Linked DNA regions of Homo sapiens: regions 1, 2 and 3 are each linked to region 4. Evidence: promoter capture Hi-C in human tissues and cell types (Jung and others, 2019). All regions are on one chromosome and are shown on one strand. Each heading gives the region's core, a stretch centred on a gene start or on the middle of the fragment in contact. The rest is flanking DNA. Distances are from core to core; before and after follow the strand shown. Region 1 overlaps HACD3 (3-hydroxyacyl-CoA dehydratase 3). Region 2 overlaps IGDCC3 (immunoglobulin superfamily DCC subclass member 3). Region 3 has its middle 18 kb from the start of RNU5B-1. Region 4 holds the start of IGDCC4 (immunoglobulin superfamily DCC subclass member 4).

Evidence for each region. Contacts are between HindIII fragments. The study calls those that stand out against the background at their distance.
Region 1: a fragment that was not itself captured here is called in contact with the fragment with the promoter of IGDCC4 in region 4 in 3 of the 25 tissues and cell types used here (H1 embryonic stem cells, bladder and thymus).
Region 2: a fragment that was not itself captured here is called in contact with the fragment with the promoter of IGDCC4 in region 4 in 2 of the 25 tissues and cell types used here (heart left ventricle and neural progenitor cells).
Region 3: a contact is called between a fragment that was not itself captured here and the fragment with the promoter of IGDCC4 in region 4, in 6 of the 25 tissues and cell types used here (H1 embryonic stem cells, bladder, lymphoblastoid cells and 3 more).

The regions. Positions count from the first base shown.
Region 1 is chr15:65,537,043-65,540,203 of GRCh38, reverse strand. All of the region lies in intron 1 of HACD3 (3-hydroxyacyl-CoA dehydratase 3), which reads right to left. Among named protein-coding and RNA genes, the nearest start is that of HACD3, 8.2 kb to the right of the region's middle. The HindIII fragment of the contact is 3,444 bases long and covers 1-3,084 here.
Region 2 is chr15:65,356,579-65,359,343 of GRCh38, reverse strand. The region is part of intron 2 of IGDCC3 (immunoglobulin superfamily DCC subclass member 3); the gene reads left to right. Among named protein-coding and RNA genes, the nearest start is that of IGDCC3, 20 kb to the left of the region's middle. The HindIII fragment of the contact is 8,320 bases long and covers 1-2,765 here.
Region 3 is chr15:65,320,826-65,323,603 of GRCh38, reverse strand. No RefSeq gene overlaps it. Among named protein-coding and RNA genes, the nearest start is that of RNU5B-1, 18 kb to the right of the region's middle. The HindIII fragment of the contact is 4,268 bases long and covers 1-2,778 here.
Region 4 is chr15:65,421,662-65,424,407 of GRCh38, reverse strand. IGDCC4 (immunoglobulin superfamily DCC subclass member 4) reads left to right here and starts at 1,461. Exons shown (of 20, transcript NM_020962.3): 1 at 1,461-1,615. The coding sequence starts at 1,546. RefSeq lists enhancers at 649-1,183, 2,159-2,428, 2,449-2,558. The HindIII fragment of the contact is 12,230 bases long and covers 1-2,746 here.

The DNA of each region.
Region 1 (3,161 bases), core at 113-2,612, 120 kb before region 4:
TGTACTGTGGTAATAAACAGCTTAGACTTATTGATTTCTATTATTAAATATTTCAAGCAAAATCAAACAGAAAAATATAGCAAACACCACTATATCTAACATCCATTAGCATTTTGCTTTATTTGCCTCAATTTTTAAAAAAAGAAATAAAACAGAAACAGATACATTATACAATTTCTCAATCCCAATGCCCTCTCCCTCAAACATGCCCCAACTTCGCAGGTAACCACTACTCCAGGATTGGAGTTGGTCGTTTCCACTGTATTTATTTATTCATTAAAACACGTTGGGCATTCACAATATACAGTATGATTTGACATGTCACAAAAATAATTTCATACTGCCTATATCATTCTTCAACTTGCTTTTTATTTGATATTATATTTCTAAGCTTTAATTCTATAAAGATGGTTCTGTTTCATTCATTGTAGCTGTTGTACAGTGTGCCATTGTATAAATATACCACAATTTATCCATTCTTCCAGCTGACAAAAATTGAGGCTGTTTTCAATTTTTTGCTGCAATGAACATTCTACCTCCACCTGCATGTGTAAGAGCTTCTCTAAAAAGCAAAACTTCCAACTCATAAAGACATACAACTTCAGCTTGACAAGATAGTGTAAAACTGTTCTCCAAATCAATTGTACCAATTAGTACTTCCACCAACTGTATAAAAAAAGTCCGGCTGGGCACGGTGGCTCACGTCTGTAATCCTAGCGCTTTGGGAGGCCAAGGCAGGCAGATTACTTGAGGTCAGGAGTTCGAGACCAGCATGGCCAACATGGTGAAACCCCATCTCTACTAAAAATACATAAATTAGCAGGGCATGATGGCGGGCGCCCGTAGTCCCAGCTACTCGGGAGGCTGAGGCGGGAGAATCACTTGAGCCCAGGAGGCGGAGATTGCAGTGAGCCAAGATTGAGCCATTGCAATCCAGCCTGGGGTGACACGGTGAGACTCCATCTCAAAAAAAAAAAAAAAAAAAAAAAAAAAGTCCTGTCACTGAACATTCTCAGAAACACTTGGTCATGTCAGGCTTTTTCAATTTTCCTACTCTAATGTGAGAAACAGTATCCTATCATTTTAATTTACAGGCATACCTTGGAGCTATTGTAGGTTCTGTTCCAGACCACCACAATAAAGCTAATATCACAATAAAGTGAGTCACACAAAGTTTCTGGTTTCCCAGTATATATAAATGTTATGTTTATATTATACTATAGTCTATTAAGTATGCAGTATTATTCTAAAAAACAGTGTACATACCTTAACTTTAAAATATTTCATTGCTAAAAAATGCTAATGATCATGTGAGCTTTCAGGGAGTTGTAATCTTTTTGCTGGTGGCGGGTCCTGCCTCAATGTTGATGGCTGTGGACTGATCCAGGTGGTGACTGCTGAAGGCTGGAGTGGCTGTGGCAATTTCTTAAAGGAGGACAACAATGAAGTTTGTCTCATTGATTGAGTCTTTCCTTCACTAAAGATTTCTTTGCAGCATGCAATGCTGTTTGATACTGTTTTACCCAGAGAATAATTTCTTTTAAAATCAGAGTATACTCTCAACCCCTGCCACTGCTTTATTAACTAAGTTTATGAAACAGTATAAACCCTTCATTGTCATTTCAACAATGTTCAGAGCATCTTCATCAGAAATAGATTCCATCTCAATAAATCACTTTCTTTGCTCATCCATAAGAAGCAACTCCTCATCCCTTCAAGTTTTATCATGAGATTGCTGCATTCAGTCACACCTTCAGGCTCCACTTCTAAGTCTAGTTCTCTTGCTATTTCTACCACACCTGCAGTTACTACCTCCACTGAAGTCTTGAACCCCTCAAAATCATCCATGAGGGTTGAATTCCACTTCTTCGAAACTCCTGTTCATTTTTATATTTTGACCTCTTCCTATGAATCACAAATGATCTTAATGGTATCTAGAATGGTGAATCCTTTCCAGAAAGTTTTCAATTGACTTTGCCCAGATCCATCACAGAATCACTACCTACGACAGTTTTAACCTTACGGAAAGTATTTTCTAAATAAGACCTGAAAGTCAAAATTATTCCTTGATCCATGGGCTGCAAAAGGAATGTTATGTTAGCGGGCATGAAAACAACATTAATCTCCTTGACATTTCCATCAGCACTCTTGGGTGGGACTAGGTGCACTGTCAATGAGCAGTAATATTTTGAAAGGAATATACATATATATATATATATATATATATATATATATATATATATATTTTTTTTTTTTTTTTTTTTTTTTTCTGAGAAGTTGGCCTCAACAGTGGGCTTAAAATATTCAGTAAACCATTCTGTAAACAAATGTGCTATCATCCAGGAGTCGTTGTTCCACTTACAGAGCATAGGCAGAGTAGATTTAGCATAATTCTTTTTTTTTTTTTTTTTGAGACAGAGTCTCTCTCTATTGCCCAGGCTGGAGTGCAGTGGTGCGATCTCAGCTCACTGCAACCTCTGCCTCCCAGATCCAAGCGATTCTCCTGCCTCAGCCTCCCAAGTAGCTGGGATTAAAGGCGCCCGCCACCATGCCCAGCTAATTTTTTTTATTTTTTAGTAGAGACGGGGTTTCGCCATGTTGGTCAGCCTGATCTTGAACTCCTGACCTCAGGTGATCCACCTGCCTCGGCCTCCCAAAGTGCCGGGATTACAGACATGAGCCACCATGCCCGGCCGATTTAACATAATTCTTAAGGGCCCTAGGATTTTCAGAATGGTAAAGGGGCACTGGCTTCAACTTCAAGCCACCAGCTGCATTAGCCCCTAACAAAAGAGTCAGACTGTCCTTTGAAGCTTTGAGGCCAGGCATTGACTTCTCTCTAACTATAAAAGTCCTCCACGGCATCTTCTTCCAGTAGAAGGCTGTTACATTGAAAATCTGTTGTTCAGTGCAGCCACCTTCATCAAGGATCTTAGTTAGATCTTCTGGATAACTTGCTGCAGCTTCTACAATCAGCACTTGTAGCTTCACCTTGCACTTTTATGTTATGGAGCCTTTCCTTAAGCCTCATGAATCAACTTCTGCTAGCTTCAAATTTCTCTTCTGCAGCTTCCTCACCTCTCAGCCTTCATAGAATTGAAAGAGTTGGGGCCTTGTTCTGGATTAGGCTTTGGCTTAAGAGAATGTCGTGGCTGATTTAT
Region 2 (2,765 bases), core at 197-2,696, 65 kb after region 4:
GGCCTATCCCTGCACAGACATGCCTGCCTTCCTGTTATAACCATAATGACAACAAAGCATTCTGTGAACCCAAGTTGCTGTGGAAATGGGGGAAAAAAAGGACACATACTCTCATTATTATACTCATTATGTTCCTATCAGAATACTCACCCATGGAGCATTATTTTTAAAGTTACTCATGGTCTTGGGTTTGGGAAAGGAAGAGATCATTTAAAAGCATTTTCTCAGGCCAGGTGCAGTGGCTCACACCTGTAGTCCCAGCACTTGGGGCAGGTGCATCACTTGAAGTTAGGACTTCGAGACCAGCCTGGCCAACATGGTGAAACCCTGTCTCTACTAAAAATACAAAAATTAGCCAGACATGGTGGTACACACCTGTAATACAAGCTACTCGGGAGGCTGAGGCACAAGAATTGTTTGAACCAGGGAGGTGGAGGTTGCACTGAGCCAAGATCGCGCCACTCCACTCCAGCCTGGGTGACAGAGCGAGACTTCATCTAAAAGAAAAATAAACTAATTAATTAGATAAACTAAATCAAAGCACTTTTTCAGTTACTTAAAAGGCTGAGGTGGGAGGATCGGTTGAGCCCAGGAGTTCGAGGCTGCAGTGAACCAGTGCACTCCAGCCTGGGTGACAGAGAGAGACCATGTCTCAAAAATTAAAATAAAATAAAACATAAAGACACTTTTTCAGTTAAAAGTATTGAGTCTCTAATTTAGGCCCGGAGGCTCCTCTTGCTTTTTGAATGTGCCATTTCTCAAAATATAATTTATCTGAGGATTGGCCATTCAGGCACCCTTGTTGAAATCTAGGCAACCCACAAAGGCATATGTATAGAGATAAATAGTGACAAATGTATTTGTAGTTACAGTTTGAACAGCCATTTTAGTCTTGCAAAATGAAGCTAGTGGCCTGTATAGCATTAAAATGGTTTTGGGGCTCCGTGCAGTGTCTCATGTCTCTAATCCCAGCACTTTGGAAGGCTAAGGCAGGCAGATCACTTGAACCCAGGAGTTAGAGACCAGCCTGGGCAACATGGCAAAACTCCATCTCTACCGAAATACAAAAAATTAGCCAGGCATGGTGGTGGGTGCCTGTAGTCCCAGGTACTTAGGGAGCTGAGGTGGGAGGATCGCTTGAGCCTGAGAGGTTGAGGCTGCAGTGAGCTGAAATCACGCCACCGTACTCCAGCCTGGGTGACAAAGTGAGACCCTGTCTCAGAAAAAAAAAAAAAAAAATATGTCTTGGATCTGCTACTAACTAACTAGCTGTTGTTTTCTTGGATCTTTTTTCTCTCTAGAAATGGGGGCTTTAAGCCTCTCCCTAGAATCCTGAAGGTGGAGGGGAAAAGGGAGGTCAAAGTGGGGTTCCAGGCATCCTACATCTACCCCATCAATGGCAGCTTAGCTTTTATCTTTTTGTTTTGTTTTGTTTTGGAGTTCTCTAAACTGACTAACTAGGCAGATAGGTCTAACAGGGAGTAGTTCGGCAGCTGCAGGTGCTGTGATGCCAAGAGGGCTTAAGGGCCTAGAGTCTTAGGTAGAAGAAGTATAACTCTAAGATGAACATTTAGGAGAGTTATAAAGAAAAACATTTTTATCACATCTGTGGTTATGACCAAGGTTAGATTAAGCCTTGATTCAGGAAAACAATGAGTTATACTTAAATTTTGGAAAGCTTTTCATGTATCACTGTCACTACTAGTGCTTGGTAGTGTTAAATACAGTTAGTTGGTCAGAGCAAGGAACAACTTGGCTCCTGCTCGTTTGGTCCCTCAATAAGTGTTGCCCATTCTTTTATTTTATTCTCAAATAAATGGATGGATAGATGGATACTTCTATGCAAGGGTTTGGCTATGGGCAGTCTAGAAAATGCTTATAATCGAATTATGGTGACATGGACATTAGAAAATGCTGCAGCCTCAGAAAGGGCTCTGTGATATGTGTCAAATAAATGGTGCTAACCAAGGGCTATTGGTTTAGCCAACAGCCTTCTGTTGATCTGGGCAACACTAATTATTTAACAGATAAAGAATTGATTAATCATTTAATAAATCTGATAGAACACTGGAACATAAGCATATCATTCTTCCTTTAGGTGGAATTAGTCAAAGAGCCCATCAGAAGAGATTAGGAAGTCCATGTTTCCAGAAAAAGAATATGCAGAATTGAGGGGTATTAAAGCAGGTCCAGGCCGGGTGTGGTGGCTCACACCCGTAATCCCAGCACTTTGGGAGGCTGAGGTGGGCGGATTGCCTAAGGTCAGGAGTTCGAGACCAGCCTGGCCAACATGGTGAAACCCCATCTCTACTAAAAACACAAAAAAATTAGCTGGGCATAGTGGTGCCTGCCTGTAATCCCAGCTACTTCGGAGGCGGAGGCAAGGGAATCGCTTGAATCCAGGAGGCAGAAGTTGCAGTGAGCCGAGATCAGGCCACTGCACTGCAGCCTGGAAGACAGAGCAAGACTCCATCTCAAAAAAAAAAAAAAAAAAAGCAGGTCCATTCTCAAATCTCACATCAGCAAATCTCTAAGAGTATCTATCCTGCACCTATCTGCCTCTGTGCCAAGTACTCTGTGAAGGATAGCACAGAAAGATAAGACACTTCCTGATCTTGAAGGGTGTAATCTCCCCACCCACCCCCCCAACCCTCGCCTTTAAAAAAAAACCCACTTTGTTTGGTGGTGATGGTGAAAAAGCAGCCTGACGTAGCACAAAGTATCTCTTGAATGCATACATAGTGTGACCATCGGCTTGTCCATCT
Region 3 (2,778 bases), core at 27-2,526, 100 kb after region 4:
GACCTCGTGATCCACCTGCCTCGGCCTCCCAAGGTGCTGGGATTACAGGTATGAGCCACCATGCCCGGCCTTTTTTTTTTTTTTTTTTTTTTTTTTTTAAGAGACAGGGTCTCACTGTGTTGCCCAGGCTGGAGTGCCGTCAAACCTTGGTGGTTTCACATCACATTTATTTGGCTTACAAATATGCAGTCTGGGCAGGGCTCAGGGGCAGCTGTCTCTGCTCCACTCTGCATCAGCGTGGGCAGCTTGAAGCCTGGGGGCTGGGATCCCCTGAAGGCTCCCTCCCTCCCGCGTCTGGTGGCTGATGCTGGCTGTGAGCCCAGCACCTCCACATGGCCTCTCCGTGTGGCCTGGGCTTCCTCACAGCATAGTGGCTGGGTTCCAAAGACAAGCGTCCTGAGAGAGAGAGCCAGGTGGAAACTGCAACATCATTTCTACGCCGGCCCAAGTGACACAGCATCACTTCTGCTATAGTCAGCTCTTTAGAACAAGTCGCTAAGGCAAGCCACATTCAGGGAATTCAAGGGGAATTAAAGTCTTCTTTTCAATGGAGAGTCAAAGAATGTATGGACTGTTTTAAAATGACCACAGGGGCCGGGTGCAGTGGCTCACCCGCCGGGGAGAATTACTTGAGCCCAGGAGGTGAAAGTAGCAGTGAGCCGAGATCATGCCACTGCACTCCAGCTTGGACTATAGAGTGAGACTCCATCTCAAATAAATAGATAAATAAATAAATAAAATGACCACAGGGCCACTCCGGAGGGACAGGTGGGGAACAAATATGAGCCAGGAGGCAGGGAGGGGAGGAAAGCTTTACCCCATGGCCCTGGGACTGTGCATGAGGCTGGTGGGGACACAGCTGGGGACGGCAGGAGACAGAGGGTGCCCCGAACTCCTATGGGGACACTGGGGCTGGACACAGGGAATGAGTGAGTGGGGGCAGCTAAGGCTGGGGGCCTGCCTTAAATTCTGGGTTAAGGCTTGAGTCAGGGAGGGGAACAGCTAAACCCATGGTCCTCTCTCAAAGAGGTATTAGAGGGCTGGGCACAGTGGCTCACTGTGTAATCCCAGCACTTTGGGAGGCCAAGGCAGGAAGACAGCTTGAGGCCAGGAATTCGAGACCAGCTGGACGACATGGCAAAATCGTCTCCACACAAAATTTAAAAATTAGCCAGGCATGGTGACACATGCCTGTAATCCCAGCTACTCAGGAGGCTGAGGTGTGAGGATCGCTTGAGCCTGGGAGGTTGAGGCTATAGTGAGCCAAGATCGTGCCATTGCACTCCAGTTTGGGTGACAGAGGGAGAACCTGTCTTAAAAAAAAAGGTACGAGGGGACTTGGGGACTGATCTGAGGGCTTTGTTGCTCCCCTGAGCCCCCCTGGAGCTACCTTGGAACGGAGAGGGAGCAGGGAGAAGAAGGGGCTGAGAGGAGGCCGAGGAGGAGCCTGGCTGGCAGAGAAGGGAAGGGCTCCTTGGACTCAAGAGGGATGGACACTGAGTTCCCACAAACGTGGATGGCCCCTTGGTCACCGTGCACCACGTGCCACCACCACAAGGCAGGGTTGGCCCTGGCTATTACTCCAGAATAGCCACCCTCTGACCAGGCTCTGCTCCCCACAGCTTCTCCTCGTCATGGTGCCTCTTCCTGCAGATGTCTCTCTCGCTCTCTGGAGGGGCTTCCTTCCCCGAGGCCCAGGATGCCCTATGCTGCATTTTGTCTCATTGCCTCAAAAGCTGGCTCCCCATTATGTGGACTTGTGCTGCCAGCACTTTCTTCATAACCACTGAAGGAATCAGAGTGTCTAACTGGGAGTACTGGGGACACTGTCACAAAGCTACCAAGAAAGCATACTTTGGTTCAATCCCGGCTGCTATAGTAGTGTCTTGGGTCAAGAATTGGAGAGTTTTGTGCCTGGAAGCTTGAGGTCATCTCTCCCGTGGCCAGCAAGTCCCCAGTTATTGGGCTGAGGCTGGGGTGAGGAGAACCAGAGCCCCAGCAGGATCAGAGAACAGTGAGGTGTCTCCTTCCATGCCTAGCTGGGGTGTCACCTTATATGGGGGACCTTCTCCAACTCAGCTGGTGGCTATGCCTTCAGCCCTTTGCCACCTGGGAGCTAGTACAGAGCTCAGAGCCAGTGCCCTGCTATTGAGAGCAACGAGCTGTCACTGTTCCCTGTCTTCTAGTGAGAAGCATGGCACCCTCTGGAGCTAAGAAGGTGGTGGCCATGGCCCAGGCTGTGGACACTAGAGTCCAACTGATGTGGTTTGAACCCCTGGCTCTGCTATTTCCTAGTTGTGTAACCGTGAGCAAACGATTTAACTTCTTTACACCTCTGTTTCCTTGTCTGTAAAATAGAGATAATATGCCCCTACCTCAAAGGGTTGTCGACCCAGCTGGGTTCTTTGCAGAAATTGATGAGCTGATTCGAAAATTTATACGGAAATGCAAGGGATCCCAAATAGCTAAAACAATCTTGAAAACAAAGAACAAAGTTGGAGGACTCATACTTTCTTGGTTTACTACAAAGCTACAATAATTAAAAAGTGTATTCCTGGCATCTGGGCAAACATATATCTCAATAAAATAGCACCAACAATCCAGAAATAAACTCTCACATTTATAGTCAATTGGTTTTTGACAAGGGTGCCAAGACAATTCAGTAGAGAAAGAATAGTCTTTTCAAAAAATGGTGCTAGGACAACTGGATATTCACATGCAAAGAAATGAATCTGGACCCTTTACACCATACAAAAAAAACTAACTCAGACTGGGTGT
Region 4 (2,746 bases), core at 212-2,711:
ACATTTTTGACCTGGGCAACAGGAAAGGAACTGAGATGAGGAAGACTGTGGGAGGAGAAAGATTGATAGAAAAGATCAGGATGAGTTTGTCTACTAGACAGCTAAAGGAACTGGGGCCTGGATGGCTGGATACAGAAGTCCAGGGTTCAGGAAAGATGGTCTAGGCTGAAAGTATACATTTGGGCATCATTAGCATAAAGATGCTCTTTAAAGCCTTGAGGACCAGATGAGATCACTAAGGGAAGCAAGTGTTTCAAGGAAGAGGGAGTGATTCACTAAGTCAAATGCTGCTGATAGGGCAAGTGAAGATGGGGCGTGGCAATGAATGAATAAACGCCAGGCCTGTTAGATATGCAAAGCGCCAGTGATTATTGAGGGTTAACTGACAACAGACAGGTGTAGAGACAAGATGGCTCTAAGTCACAGGAACACTTAGAGACACAGGGAAGGGAAGAACTATGGCATCTTGGAGTTGGAAAGGACCTTAACTAGGTCATTGAATCTGTACTCTTTTCCCCACCCTAGCCTGACAATTGAACCCTTGGCTGTAGAACAAGAAATATTTGCGGGATACTGAGGCAAACAGTCTGGCTAGGTAGGTTAGAGAAAGTACCGTTGAAGAATGAGAAAAAGGGTACTTCAGTAAATGCTGGACAGCAGAGGCAGGGTGAGGGAGTGGAGATGACCTTCCGAAGTCAGAAAACCAAGGTTCAGGTCCTGTATCTGCTGCTCCCTAGCCTCCTGTCCTTGGGCAAGTCACTTCACCTTCTCCAGCCTCAGTTTCCCCATGCGGCGACATCTGAATATGGTAGTGCTTGAAGGTAGTGTAAAAGTGTCCTGCCTGTGTTAGTTACTGCCAGAGCAAGGGAAGGAGGCCAAGAGAAGCCCTTGGTTTGGGATGGCAGATAGGACTATCAAGATCTCCGCAGGTGGGCTGGCGCAACGTGTGGAGAAGCGAACCAGCATTCAGGCCAGGACCTGGGCTGGAATGGACTGGGCTCGGGTGGCAAGGGGGCCATCTGGACAAAGACCGTGGCCCTGAATCTGCCTCCCCTGAGCCTGGAACGGAGGTGGAGACCCCGAGGCAGCAACAGGGAGAAGAAATAGAGACGCTGAGGCAGAGAGACCAGAAGACTCAGAGACGGGGAGACTAAGAGACAGACCCAGCAACAGGCGGCCTCACGGGGGCCCGCGGCGACCCGGAGAGGGCGAGGCACCGGGACACAGACCCGGGCCGAGAGGAGCCCCCGCGAGGCGCAGGGCCGTGGCGCGCGGGCGCAGGGTCCCCGGCGGGGCCAGGGTGGCCACACTCGCCGGGCGCCCCCTCCCGGGCCGCTCGCCCAAGATGGCGATGGAGGGGCGGGTGAGGCGGCAGCGGCCCTGGCCCCCGCGCCGGCCCCAGCTCGGGCCCGGGCCCCCGAGGCCGCGCCCCCGCCCGCGGCGCCGCGCCTCCCCGGGCCACTGACGCCCGGCGCGCTCTCCCCCCGCGGCGGCGGCCGAAGCACGGGGAGGCGGCGGCGGCGGCGGCGGCCCGAGCCCAGCCCCATGGCGCGGGGGGACGCCGGCCGCGGCCGCGGGCTCCTCGCGTTGACCTTCTGCCTGTTGGCCGCGCGCGGTAAGGGCGGGCGCCCGGAGAGGCAGGAGCGACTGCGGAGTGCTGGTGCGCCCGCGCCCTGGTCTGCATCGGGCTGCGGGGCTGGCTCAAGCCGGAGTCCCGAGCAAGTGCGGGGGCTGCGCGTCCAGGTGCCCGCGATGCCTGCGCGGGGGTCTGCGAGCTGCGGCCGGGGGGCGTTTGTGGGGCGTGCTTGTCCGCAGTGGGTGTGTGCCTTTGGTTCGCAGAGTCTGGAGTCGTGTGTGTGTGTGTGTGTGTGTGTGTGTGTGTGTGTGTTGGGAGTGCTCCTGTCGTGTCCGCAGTGCGTGCCATGGTCGCGGCGTGGCATCGGCGGGGCGGGTAGCTGCGGTGTCGGTGGCTTTCGCGGGGCGGGCTCTGCCTTGCCTGCGCGTGTCTTGGGTTGAGAGTGTGTGTAAAAGAGGAGGGAACTGGGGTTGTGTCTGCACCTCCATTTGGGTCGGGTGCGTGTGCAATTGTGTTTATGGGGCTGAGCTAATATTTGGCCTTGGCATTTGGGAAGTGTCCTTGCCCATAGTGGGGGACAGAGCGATGGATCCCGTTTGACTGGGGGTGGTGGTGATAAAACAACACTCAACTTTGCCCAGTGGGTGTGGTCCCTGGGGCCGGTTAGAGAGGGGTAGAGGGAGGTGTTGCTCCCCAAAACCTGTGGCCAGCAGTGGACTGGGGGAGGGGGCAGGAAACCATTTGCTTTCGTGGACATGTCCAGCGCTTGTTCTCACGATGGGACGCGTGTCACCCCGGCCCCACCCCCCAGGGACCGACCAGGGAAGCGTGGACGAGGTCAGCAGGGCCTCATCCAGTCCGCAGCCCAGTGCGGAGTGGGTACGGGGTAAGTCAGAGTTGTCCAAGCTGGAGAAAGGGCTGGGGAGGGGATAGCGAAGTCCCCAAGGGTGTGTGTCTAGGGCTGCGGCTTCCACCCACAGCTCTGTCGCTTCCTGTCCGGTGTGCGTTTGGGGGCGGCTCATGGGGAGTGTAGGTGGCAGGGCTGGGAGGGGGATGGGCTGGCCGCTTTGTTCGCCTAGTTCTTGCCTTCCCCGCGGAGGGGGGAGCTGAGGATGTGTCCGGGGAGAGTCGGGGAGGGACTTGGAGGTGGGGGTGGGGAGGGGGATTTCT